2 separate regions of the Homo sapiens genome follow, and region 2 is linked to region 1. The links are contacts of gene promoters, found by promoter capture Hi-C in human tissues and cell types (Jung and others, 2019). All regions are on one chromosome and are shown on one strand. Each heading gives the region's core, a stretch centred on a gene start or on the middle of the fragment in contact. The rest is flanking DNA. Distances are from core to core; before and after follow the strand shown.

Region 1 (4,971 bases), core at 1,895-4,394:
CATGATTGGCTGTATTCTGGGTACAGAGCAAGACAGATGCATGGAAGCCAGTCTGGAGTCTCTCCTTCAAGGTCCTGTTGAAGAACTGCCACCTCTCTACAACCTTCTGTGGGCCCTGACTCAGAGCAGATCACATTTTATCACCATCACCTGCTTAGTCTGTAGTCCCCAGTACACAGAGACTATTTACAATTCTACCTCCAGCACCCACAGAGCAGCTGCCCCCATCAGGCCAATGTTAGTTGTTGAATAAAGGGTTGTTTGAACAAACAGCCAAGAAACAGTGAAGCCAGTTTAATCCAAATCTAATTTCCTAAAAATCTTAAAAATGAGTCAGAGCTCGGGGGAAGACACAGCATTGGAGCTGAGGATGCCAGATGGTCAGTGCCTTACTCTTTCTGGTAAATGGATTTTAATAAAATTAACATCTGCTCTGTGATAATTACTGCCCCCCTATCTTTCCTCTGAAGACTTTCTCAGACAGTTTGAGTCTAATTACCAGAAACTGCAGACAGTTTCATCTCTACCCCTTTTTGTTGATGATCAAATATGTAAATAAACTACTTATAAATGAAACAAAAACTCATGCTTTTCTGTGTCTGGATCCTTCCTTACAGACCATGTTGCTTTCCTGGGCTTGTCTCCAGGTTCCAAGACTGGCAGTTGCTTCATGGTGTCCTATGCATAAGAAAGAAAGGCACTTTTTAGACACTTATGATTATCATCTTAATCAATTCAACCTCCTTTTTAAACCTTTCCTGTTGAATGTACTAATTTCTAGGCCTGATTGATTTGAATAAGAATCACCAACTTTTCATCTTTATTTTTATTATTTATTTATTTATTTATTTATTTGAGATGGAGTTTAGCTCTCGTTGCCCAGGCTGGAGTGCAATGGCAAGATCTCAGCTCATGGCAACCTCTGCCTCCCAGGTTCAAACGATTCTCCTCCCTCAGCCTCCCGAGTAGCTTGGATTACAGGCATGTGCCACTACGCCCAGCTAATTTTTCTATTTTTAGTAGAGATGGAGTTTCACCATGTTGGTCAGGCTGGTCTCGAACTCCTGACCTCAGCTGATCCACCCGCCTCAGCCTCCCAAAGTGCTGGGATTACAGGTGTGAGCCACCGTGCCTGGCCTATGTATTTATCTTTATTATTATTTTTAGATAGAGTCTCACTCTGTTGCACAGGTTGGAGTGCAGTGGTGCAATCTCCACTCACTGCAACCTTCCCCTCCCAGGTTTAAATGATTCTCCTTTCTCAGCCTCCTGAGTAGCTGAGATTACAGGTGCCCACCCACGCCCAGCTCATTTTTCTAGCTTTTCTAGTAGAGACGGGGTTTTACCACACTGGCCAGGCTGGTCACTAACTCCTGACCTCAGGTGATTTGCCCGCCTCAGCCTCCCAAAGTGCTGGGATTACAGGCATGAGCCACCGTGCCTGGCTTTATTTTTTATTTTTATTTTTTCTGAGATGGAGTCTCACTCTGTCACCCAGGCTGGAGTGCAGTGGCAGGATCTCAGCTCACTGCAACCTCTGCCTCCCGGGTTCAAGCTATTCTCCTGCCTCAGCCTCCAGAGTAAGCTGGGACTACAGGCAAGTGCCACCACACCTGGCTAATTTTTTTTGTATTTTTCGTAGGGATGGGGTTTCACTATGTTCGCCAGGCTGGTCTTGAACTTGGCTCGCCTCGGCCTCCCAAAGTGCTGGGATTACAGGCGTGAGCCACTGAGCCCGGCCATTTATTTATTTTTTAATTAAAAATAGAAACGGGGCTGGGAGCAGTGGCTCACGCCTGTAATCCCAGCACTTTGGGAGGCCGAGGCAGGCGGATCATGAGGTCAGATCGATACCATCCTGGCCAACATGGTGAAACCCTGTCTTTACTAAAAATACAAAAAAAATTAGCTGGGCGTTGTGGCCCACGCCTGTAGTCCCAGCTACTCAGGAGGCTGAGGCGTGAGAATTGCTTGAACCCAAGAGGCGGAGGTTGCAGTGAGCCGAAATTGCGCCACTTGCACTCCAGCCTGGCGACAGAGCAAGACTCCTCCTCAAAAAAAGAAAAAAAAATAGAAATGGAGGTTTCGCTTTGTTGTCCAGGCTGGTCTCGAACTCCTAGCCTCAGGCAATTCTTCCACCTCAGCCTCCTAAAAAGCTGGGATTACAGGTGTGAGCCACTGCTCTCCGCTCAAAGGACAAAATATTTAAAGAAGCTGAGAAATACTGAGCTCTGGGATAAATCTTGGCCTCAACATAGCATAGAAAGTAAGGCCTTCTGCTGTTGAGCTTTTTTCCCGTGAACTCACCTCCACAATCTCTTGCATTATTGGTTTTTTTGCTGTTCTTGTAATATGGCAGGCCTTTTCATAATTTTGCAGCCTGTTCTGCTTCCCCTATTTGGAATGTCGCTTCCCTTCTGGGAAATTTGCAAACTCCTAGTTAACCTTCAAAGCCCAGTTCAAAAGTCCCTTCCCTGGTGAAACCTTCCCTGATTTGCCCTTTTCTCTTCCACCCACATCCAAGTTACTTCCTTCTTCCACCCACTGGGCTCTGAAGGTATTAGCCATCACCATTGCAGGAATCATTTGGAATGTTTATCTATTTAAGGCTTCTAGACTAGATTCTAGATTAAATTCCACTAGACTAAGTTCCTAGAGGGCTGGGCCTGTCAGATCCATTCCGAGAACCTACCAATGGACCTGGCATGGAGTAGAAGTGGGGGAGTGGCTAGTGAATGAAGAAAGAAAATAGATTGAGAGATGAATGGATAAATCTCACCTGCGGCCTAGGCCACTGACAGCTGTCCCCAAAGTCCAGAGCTCAGTTAGGCTGGCTTCACGTGGGCGGGACCTCCCGCAGCAGCCGCCGCTACCAGCCCAGCAAATCTCATCCCCACGTGGCAGTTCTAGGGGATAGGAGACGGGGTCGGGAAAGAACAGGCTGATTCGGTCAAAGTGGCCGGGACGGAGCCAGGGAAGGCCCTTCCCCGTTCTTTGCACCCGGCTTGGGCCCACTCCCCTAAAAGATTCAGACTCCCTGCCCGAGACCGTGATAGACCCGGTATCCGGGGACCCTCGCCCCTACCCTCCAGCCCCGGACTGCAATACCTGCGGCGACTTAGGCCAGTCGCGAGCCGTGACTCCACCCCGGAGGGGCGGGGCTTAGGTCCGGGCCCTCCTCCCAGGACCCGGAAGAGCGTCCGGGCCAACCGCTCCCTCTTCCCTGCTCCGCCCCGAGGGCCCGGCGCTGACTTCCTGGGCTGGCGGTGGAGGGGTCCCCCAGACCGGGAGTGGACGCCAGGCTCTGCATTTCTCGGGAACCAAGTGGGGTGGGCCTTCCCTGGGTCCCTCCCTCCCGGACGGGATAAATAAGCCGGGGCTACTTGGAAACGATTTGCGCAATGCCGGGTTCGGGCGTCCGTTTGGGGAACTCAGATGCCTGCGGCAGCTGATCTACTCTGTAAGGGGCTAACAGGGCTGGGCGCCACCACACTCCAGCTTGGGCAACAGCGCAAAAACTCCCTCTCAAAAAAATAAATAAATAAAAGGGGGGGAGGGTATAACAGTTACATTTCCAGTTACAACGATTGTTTTTTTTTTTTTTTTTTGAGACGGAGTCTCGCTCTGTCGCCCAGGCGGGACTGCGGACTGCAGTGGCGCAATCTCGGCTCACTGCAAGCTCCGCTTCCCGGGTTCACGCCATTCTCCTGCCTCAGCCTCCCGAGTAGCTGGGACTACAGGCGCCCGCCACCGCGCCCGGCTAATTTTTTTTGTATTTTTAGTAGAGACGGGGTTTCACCTTGTTAGCCAGGATGGTCTCGATCTCCTGACCTCATGATCCACCCGCCTCGGCCTCCCAAAGTGCTGGGATTACAGGCGTGAGCCACCGCGCCCGGCCACAACGATTGTTAACAGTTTCTAAAGGGGAGAGTTGAGCATGCAATCCTCCTGCGCAGTCTTCGGGCCAGCTCAAGATTTGGTGCTTTAAACAGCTGATTCATTCCATAATTGCCATTTGTAATTATGGCAGGTGCTATGCTGAGCCAGACACCACCACGCTTTGCCTCCAGGAGCAAGTCTTAACTAGAGAGAGATCAAAGAAAAAGACAACTAGGGACGACTGCCAAGAGTGCAATAAATATAAAGTTCAGCCAGGAGAGTATCTGTTCTGAAGTTACTTTCCTCCAGGCCTCAGGGTTGTCTGTTTGTAACCATGGAGCTAATAAGATTTCTATCATAGGCTGGGCGCGGTGGCTCACGCCTATAAGTCCAGCACTTTGGGAGGCCGAGGCGGGCGGATCACGAGGTCAGGAGTTCGAGACCAGCCTGGCCTACATGGTGAACGCCCCCGCCCCCCCCCCCAACTAAAAACACAAAAATTAGCTAGGCGTGGTGGTGGGCGCCTGTAATCCCTGCTACTCAGGAGGCTGAGGCAGGAAAATTGCTTGAATCTGGGAGGCGGAGGTTGCAGTGAGCCGAGATAGTGCCACTGCACTCCAGCCTGGGTGACAGAGCCAGACTCCGTCTCAAGAAAAAAAAAAAAAAAAGAGAGATGTATGTAGTAGTTGTGGTGGGGAATACATGACATAATGTAAATAAAAGTGCTCAGCACCCAGCAGCTGGCACAGAGTTCTCTGTCAAGGGTAAAGCTATTCCTGACTATAAATGAACAATGTCTCTAGACATATTCAGAATCTACATTATCTTTGTTTTAGTTCATAACCATAGGTTCTCTGTGTCTTTCCTGAAAATAGAGAGGTGGCTTGCTCTCTTATGTCTGTTTCAAAGAACTCCAGTCTCTGAAACTGTCGCTGTGTCCTAGAAAATAGAGAAAACAGCTCAGGTTAGAAACAGGAGCTCCTGGAGTATAGAGCTATGGTAGCTTAGTGGGAAGAGATCAAACATACTTGGGTTAAAATCCAAGCTCCAGGCTGGGTGTGGTGGCTCATGCCTGTAATCCCAGCACTATGG
Region 2 (5,285 bases), core at 1,497-3,996, 500 kb before region 1:
ATCTGAACCTTAGTTACTGACATAAAGGAGACTAACGAAGAACTGAAGTGCAGACTTGAATTTTAAGCAGTGTGACATGGGGCTTTGGGCAGACCCGCTTGGATTTGATTATTGGCTTTGTCAGTCTGTAAGCTGGACAGTCTGCAAAATGGGGACAGTAATGCCAATCTCACATAGTCCTTAGTGAGGACTAAATGAAACAATATATGTAAGTACCTTGTAAGTACTGTAGTGCTTCTGGAGAGATGCAGGTCCAGGCTGAGCATCCCTACTCAAAATATTCAAAATCTGGGCCAGATTTGCTGGCTCACACCTTTAATCCCAGCACTTTGGGAGGCCAAGATGAGTGGATTGCTTGAGCTTGGGAGTTCAAGAGCAGCCTGGGCAAAATAATGAAACCCTGTCTCTACAAAAATATTAGCCAGGCATGGTGGCGCACATCTGTAGTTCCAGGCTGAGGTAGGAGGATTGCTTGAGCCCAGGGGGCTGAGGCTGCTGTGAGCCATGATCACACCACTGTACTCCAGCCTGGGCAACAGAGCAAGACTGTCTCAAAAAAAAAAAAAAATCAAAATCAAAAATCCTTCAAAATTCAAAACTTTTCGAACTGACATGATGCCACAATTGGAAAATTCTATGCCTGACCTCATGTGACAGGTTGCAGTTAAAACTTTATTTCATGCATAAAATTATTAAAAATACTGGCTGGGTGAGGTGGCTCATAACCAGCAATCCTGGGAGGCCAAGGTGGGAGGATTGCTTGAGTTCAGGAGTTAGAGACTAGCCTGGGCAACACAGCAAGACCTTGTCTCTACTAAAAATCAAAACAATTAGCTTGGTGTGGTGGTGTGTGCCTGTAGTCCCAGCTACTTGGGAGGCCGAGGCAGGAGGATCGTTTGAGCCCGGGGTGTCAAGGCTGCAGTGAGCCATGATTGTGCTCCTGCACTCCAGCCTGGATGACAGAGGGAGACCCTGCCTCAAAAAAGAAAAAAAAAGTTAGTATAAAATTACCTTCAGGCTATGTGTGTAAAGTGTATATGAAATATAAGTGAATTGCGTGTTTAGACTTGTGTCTTATCCCCAGGATACTGCATGATATATATGAAAATATTCCAAAATTCAAAGAAAATCCAGAGTCTGAAACACTTCTGGTCCCAAGCATTTTAGATAAGGGATGCCAACCTCTAATGGCATTCAGGGCATAAGACATTCAGGATGTTAATATGATGTAATAAGCAATGATTTGATGGAGTGGTCATAAAAGAGTGAGACTCATTTTCATGTCTGGATCATGAAATTTGTTAATTTCTGTTGTGTTTTGTAAATTAGTGCACCTACATACTGTATTGAGAGAAGGACTTTAGGATGCTGTTTTTAAGCTATTATGTGAATTGATCTGCTGAGTAACAAGAAACACTTCCAAGTGTTTATATTATCTTTTTTGTGCCTGTAACTGCTCTTTGTTAGAAAAGGGATATTATGTTATCCCCGTCCCCATTTTACAAATGCCGAAACTGAAGCTTAGAGAAGTAATGTAATTATTAATAAAAATATAGAGCTACCGGGCCGGGTGCGGTGGCTCATGCCTGTAATCCCAACACTCTGGGAGGCTGAGGCAGGTGGATCACCTGAGGTCAGGAGTTCGAGACCAGCCTGGCCAACATGGCGAAACCCTGTCTCTACTAAAAATACAAAAATTTGCCAGGCGTGGTGGCACACACACGCCTATAGTCCCAGTTACTCGGGAGGCTGAGGCAGGAGAATTGCTTGAACCCGGGAGTCGGAGGTTGCCATGAGCCAAGATTGCGCCATTGCACTCCAGCCTGGGTGACAAGAGTGAAACTCCATCTCAAAAAATATATATATTTTATATATATATATATATATATATATATATATATATATATATATATATATTTATATATATTATGTATTATATATATTTATAAATTATATATTTATATATTTTGAGATGGAATATATATATACACACACATATATATACACATATGTGTGTGTATATATATATACTTTTTGTATATACGTATAGAGAGAGCGAGAACGCGCATGCGTGAGTAGCAAAACTAGGACTTGACCTTTGTTTTGACTCAGAGTACTGAAAAGCACTATTACTTTTTTTTTGGAGTTGGGGGTCACTTTTCCATGCTGCTCTGGATTTGGATATTGGGACTGGCCCTGTCTTGGGACTGTCATTAATTATGGCCCTTTGCCTTCATTTAAACTTAATGTTTACAGAAAGTTATTATTGATTATATTGTGAGAGTGTTTGATTATAGGTATAGTGTTATGATATGAAGCTTAAGGATTTGATGAAAATACTAATACTCATTGATAATAAAGATTGGTGGTAAGATGGTAAGATGGTTACTCATATTGATAGTGGGAATGTAAATGAGTAAAACTTTTCTGGAAAGCACTTTGGCAGTATTTATTAACAAGCTTTTAAAAAAAGTTATGCATGCCTTTTGAGCTTGTAATTCCATTTCTAGGAATCTTTATTAAAGAAATCAGAGATGTCGAAAGATATTCGTGTTCAAAGATGTTCACTGCAGCAGTATTTAGCAAAAATTAGAACCTTAATGTTCAATAAAAATTAGAGAAATCATGGAAAATTCATAGAATGGAAATAATATACAGTCATCTTAGATGTTTCAGAAGAATTTTAGTGACATACTAATATGCTAACCATATAATAAGTGAAAAAAGGATATGACACTCTATAAAGTATGGTCCCAATTATGTCAAACATGTATGCAAAGAAAAGAAATAGGTGGTGAGATTATAAGACTTGATATTTTTCTCAGTTTTAGAAATGTTCTTTGATAAACAAATTATTTAAAAATAAATCATAGTTTAAAATTGATATTAACAAATATGAGTAGAGTCAGTGACCATCATTTTAACCAATAGTTTTCACTAATGCAGGTGATTGTGAAGTTGTAAATGGATTGTATTTTCAAGTTAGTTTTCACCTCTTTTATTTTGCACTTAGAACATGGTTTCATATGTCCTGACATAAATGATGTTACTATTCCCAGGAAAGCCTTCTTTTCCCCCAAAAGTCCTATTTAAGACAGTATTCTGGAAGAAGAGTTGTATTCGTATTGGTGGTATCATTATCCCGGTGCTACCATCACCTCTTCAGTGGCCACAGGGACAACGAGTAGGCCTGTGACAGCTCCGTCTTTACTTTCAGAGGGAGTCCACTCCTATCTCTGTGGAGTTGAGGTTGGCCTTTGGTAGATAGAGATAGTGAGTTGAATGCTTACGTATTTGGGAAGTGATTTTTTGGTATGGAAAATTATGTGTGTTAAGGTAAACTGAGGCATAAGATTTTAGAGTTTATTTGCACAAACAGCGATTCATGAATTGGGCAGCTTCAAATCAGAAGTGATTCTGGGGCTCCATTGAGGGAAAGTAAGCGGGGGAAGCTTTTGTAGGAAGACTGTGGAAGTAAAACAAAAGATTTGATTGATTAGTTATACAGTTGATCACTACCATTGGAAAGTCCTCAGTTACATAAGTTTGTTGGCTGCTTCTGACTAGATAAGCTTAAGGTTTTTTGTTTTTTTTTTCATATATGCATTTATAAGACATATCTCAAGTTTTGCCTATGTTTGCAAATCAAACAAGGTTAAGGTCATTTATAAGGCCTAACTAGTTTTGTCTGCTTGAATTTTTCAGACCAGGTCTGATTTTTTTGTTTTGTTGTTGTTGTTGTTTTATTTGTTTTTTTGTTTGTTTGTTTTTTGTTTTTTTTTTGTTTTTTTTTCGAGACAGGGTTCTTGCTCTATTGACCAGGCTGGAGTGCAGTGGCACGATCACGGCTCACTGCAGCCTCAACTTCCTGGACTCAAGCGATCCTCCCACCTCTTCCTCCCCAGCAGCTGGGACTACAGGCATGCACTACCACGGCCTCCCAAATTGTTGGGATTGTAAGCATGAACCACTGCATCTGGCCAGGCCTGGTCTGTTTTAATTTATTTTAACAAATGTGAATGTCTGTCTCACTTATTTTATTTTGTGAGAAGAAGATTGAAGATCACGTTTGTTTGGATTTCAGTTTTTCTGATAGCAGTAGTTAGTAAAAATATGAGTGTTAAAATATGATGAATTGTTGCCTTTTACTCTTTTCTAATTATCATATACTTTATAATTGAAATAGTTTCAGGCTGGGCACAGTAATCCCAACACTTTGGGAGGCTGAGGCAGGTGGATCACCTGAGGTTGGGAGTTCAAGACCAGCCTGACCAACATGTAGAAACCCCGTCTCTACTAAAAATACAAAATTAGCCGGGTGTGATGGCACATGCCTATAATCCCAGCTACTCGGGTGGCTGAGGCAGGAGAAGCAATTGAACCCGGGAGGTGGAGGTTGCAGTGAGCCAAGATTGCGCCATTGCATTCCAGGCTGGGCAACAATGGTGAAACTCCGTCTCAAAAAAAAAAAGAAAGAAAAGAAATAGTTTCAGCTTGTACAGTTAAGCATGATGGCCAGTTAGGTTTGTTTTTTTCAAATGCGCATACTGATTCTCTTATGTACAATATAAAAATGTGCATACTGATTCTCTTATGTACAATGCAAAAAATTTACCGAAGTATTTGAGCATATTTAAATTAGGAAAATATCAGGCAAGATGTTTCTTTTGTAAACTACTTCTGTCCAAAGCATTCTGTATATTATCAGAATGAAAAATGACAGCACTTTGTCATCTGTTCAAATTGATATTGCACTCTTTGCAATGACAGCTGAAAAGGCCCACAGGTGCCATATAAAGAGGTGACCATGTTGTCATATTTCATTTCGGCATCCCTCTGCAAAGCCATAATTACCTAATTAGGTTGTTAATTAGGAGATTAGCATTTCACTATATTGATAGAATGCTCTTTACCGGCGTGGGGTGAGATACAGATTTGTCTGCTCTAATTTATAATCTCTGCCTGTTTTGTACTTATTTATTTGCTTAAGATGCTGGTATGGGGCAATTCAGTTTACCTGAGAAACAGTTTACAAGCGAATGAAGCTTTGATCACTGGATTAAAGTTGCTGAGTTAAAATACGGACACATCCCCAAAATTAAAATAAAAATTCCAAGTTGGTATAACTTGTATTATTGTTAACACAGTCAACAAACACAATAAGAATTCACATTGTTGGTATAAAAAATTCAAAATACAAAAACTTAAGTCTGAACTATGACAGAGATTTATCTATCCTAAACTAGGCAAAATAAATTATTTTAATTATCTTCAATGACAGACCT

The links. Contacts are between HindIII fragments. The study calls those that stand out against the background at their distance.
Region 2: a fragment that was not itself captured here is called in contact with the fragment with the promoter of RABEPK in region 1 in 2 of the 25 tissues and cell types used here (dorsolateral prefrontal cortex and hippocampus).

Annotation. Positions count from the first base shown.
Region 1 is chr9:125,198,715-125,203,685 of GRCh38, reverse strand. RABEPK (Rab9 effector protein with kelch motifs) reads right to left here and starts at 3,144. Exons shown (of 8, transcript NM_005833.4): 1 at 2,780-3,144; 2 at 620-678. The coding sequence starts at 672. It overlaps LOC105376271 (a long non-coding RNA gene), which reads left to right and starts at 3,290. Exons shown (of 2, transcript NR_135145.1): 1 at 3,290-3,460; 2 at 4,031-4,153. RefSeq lists a silencer at 3,217-3,266. The HindIII fragment of the contact is 10,811 bases long and covers 1-4,971 here.
Region 2 is chr9:125,694,921-125,700,205 of GRCh38, reverse strand. The region is part of intron 1 of MAPKAP1 (MAPK associated protein 1); the gene reads left to right. Among named protein-coding and RNA genes, the nearest start is that of MAPKAP1, 9.6 kb to the left of the region's middle. RefSeq lists an enhancer at 3,363-4,102. The HindIII fragment of the contact is 4,904 bases long and covers 295-5,198 here.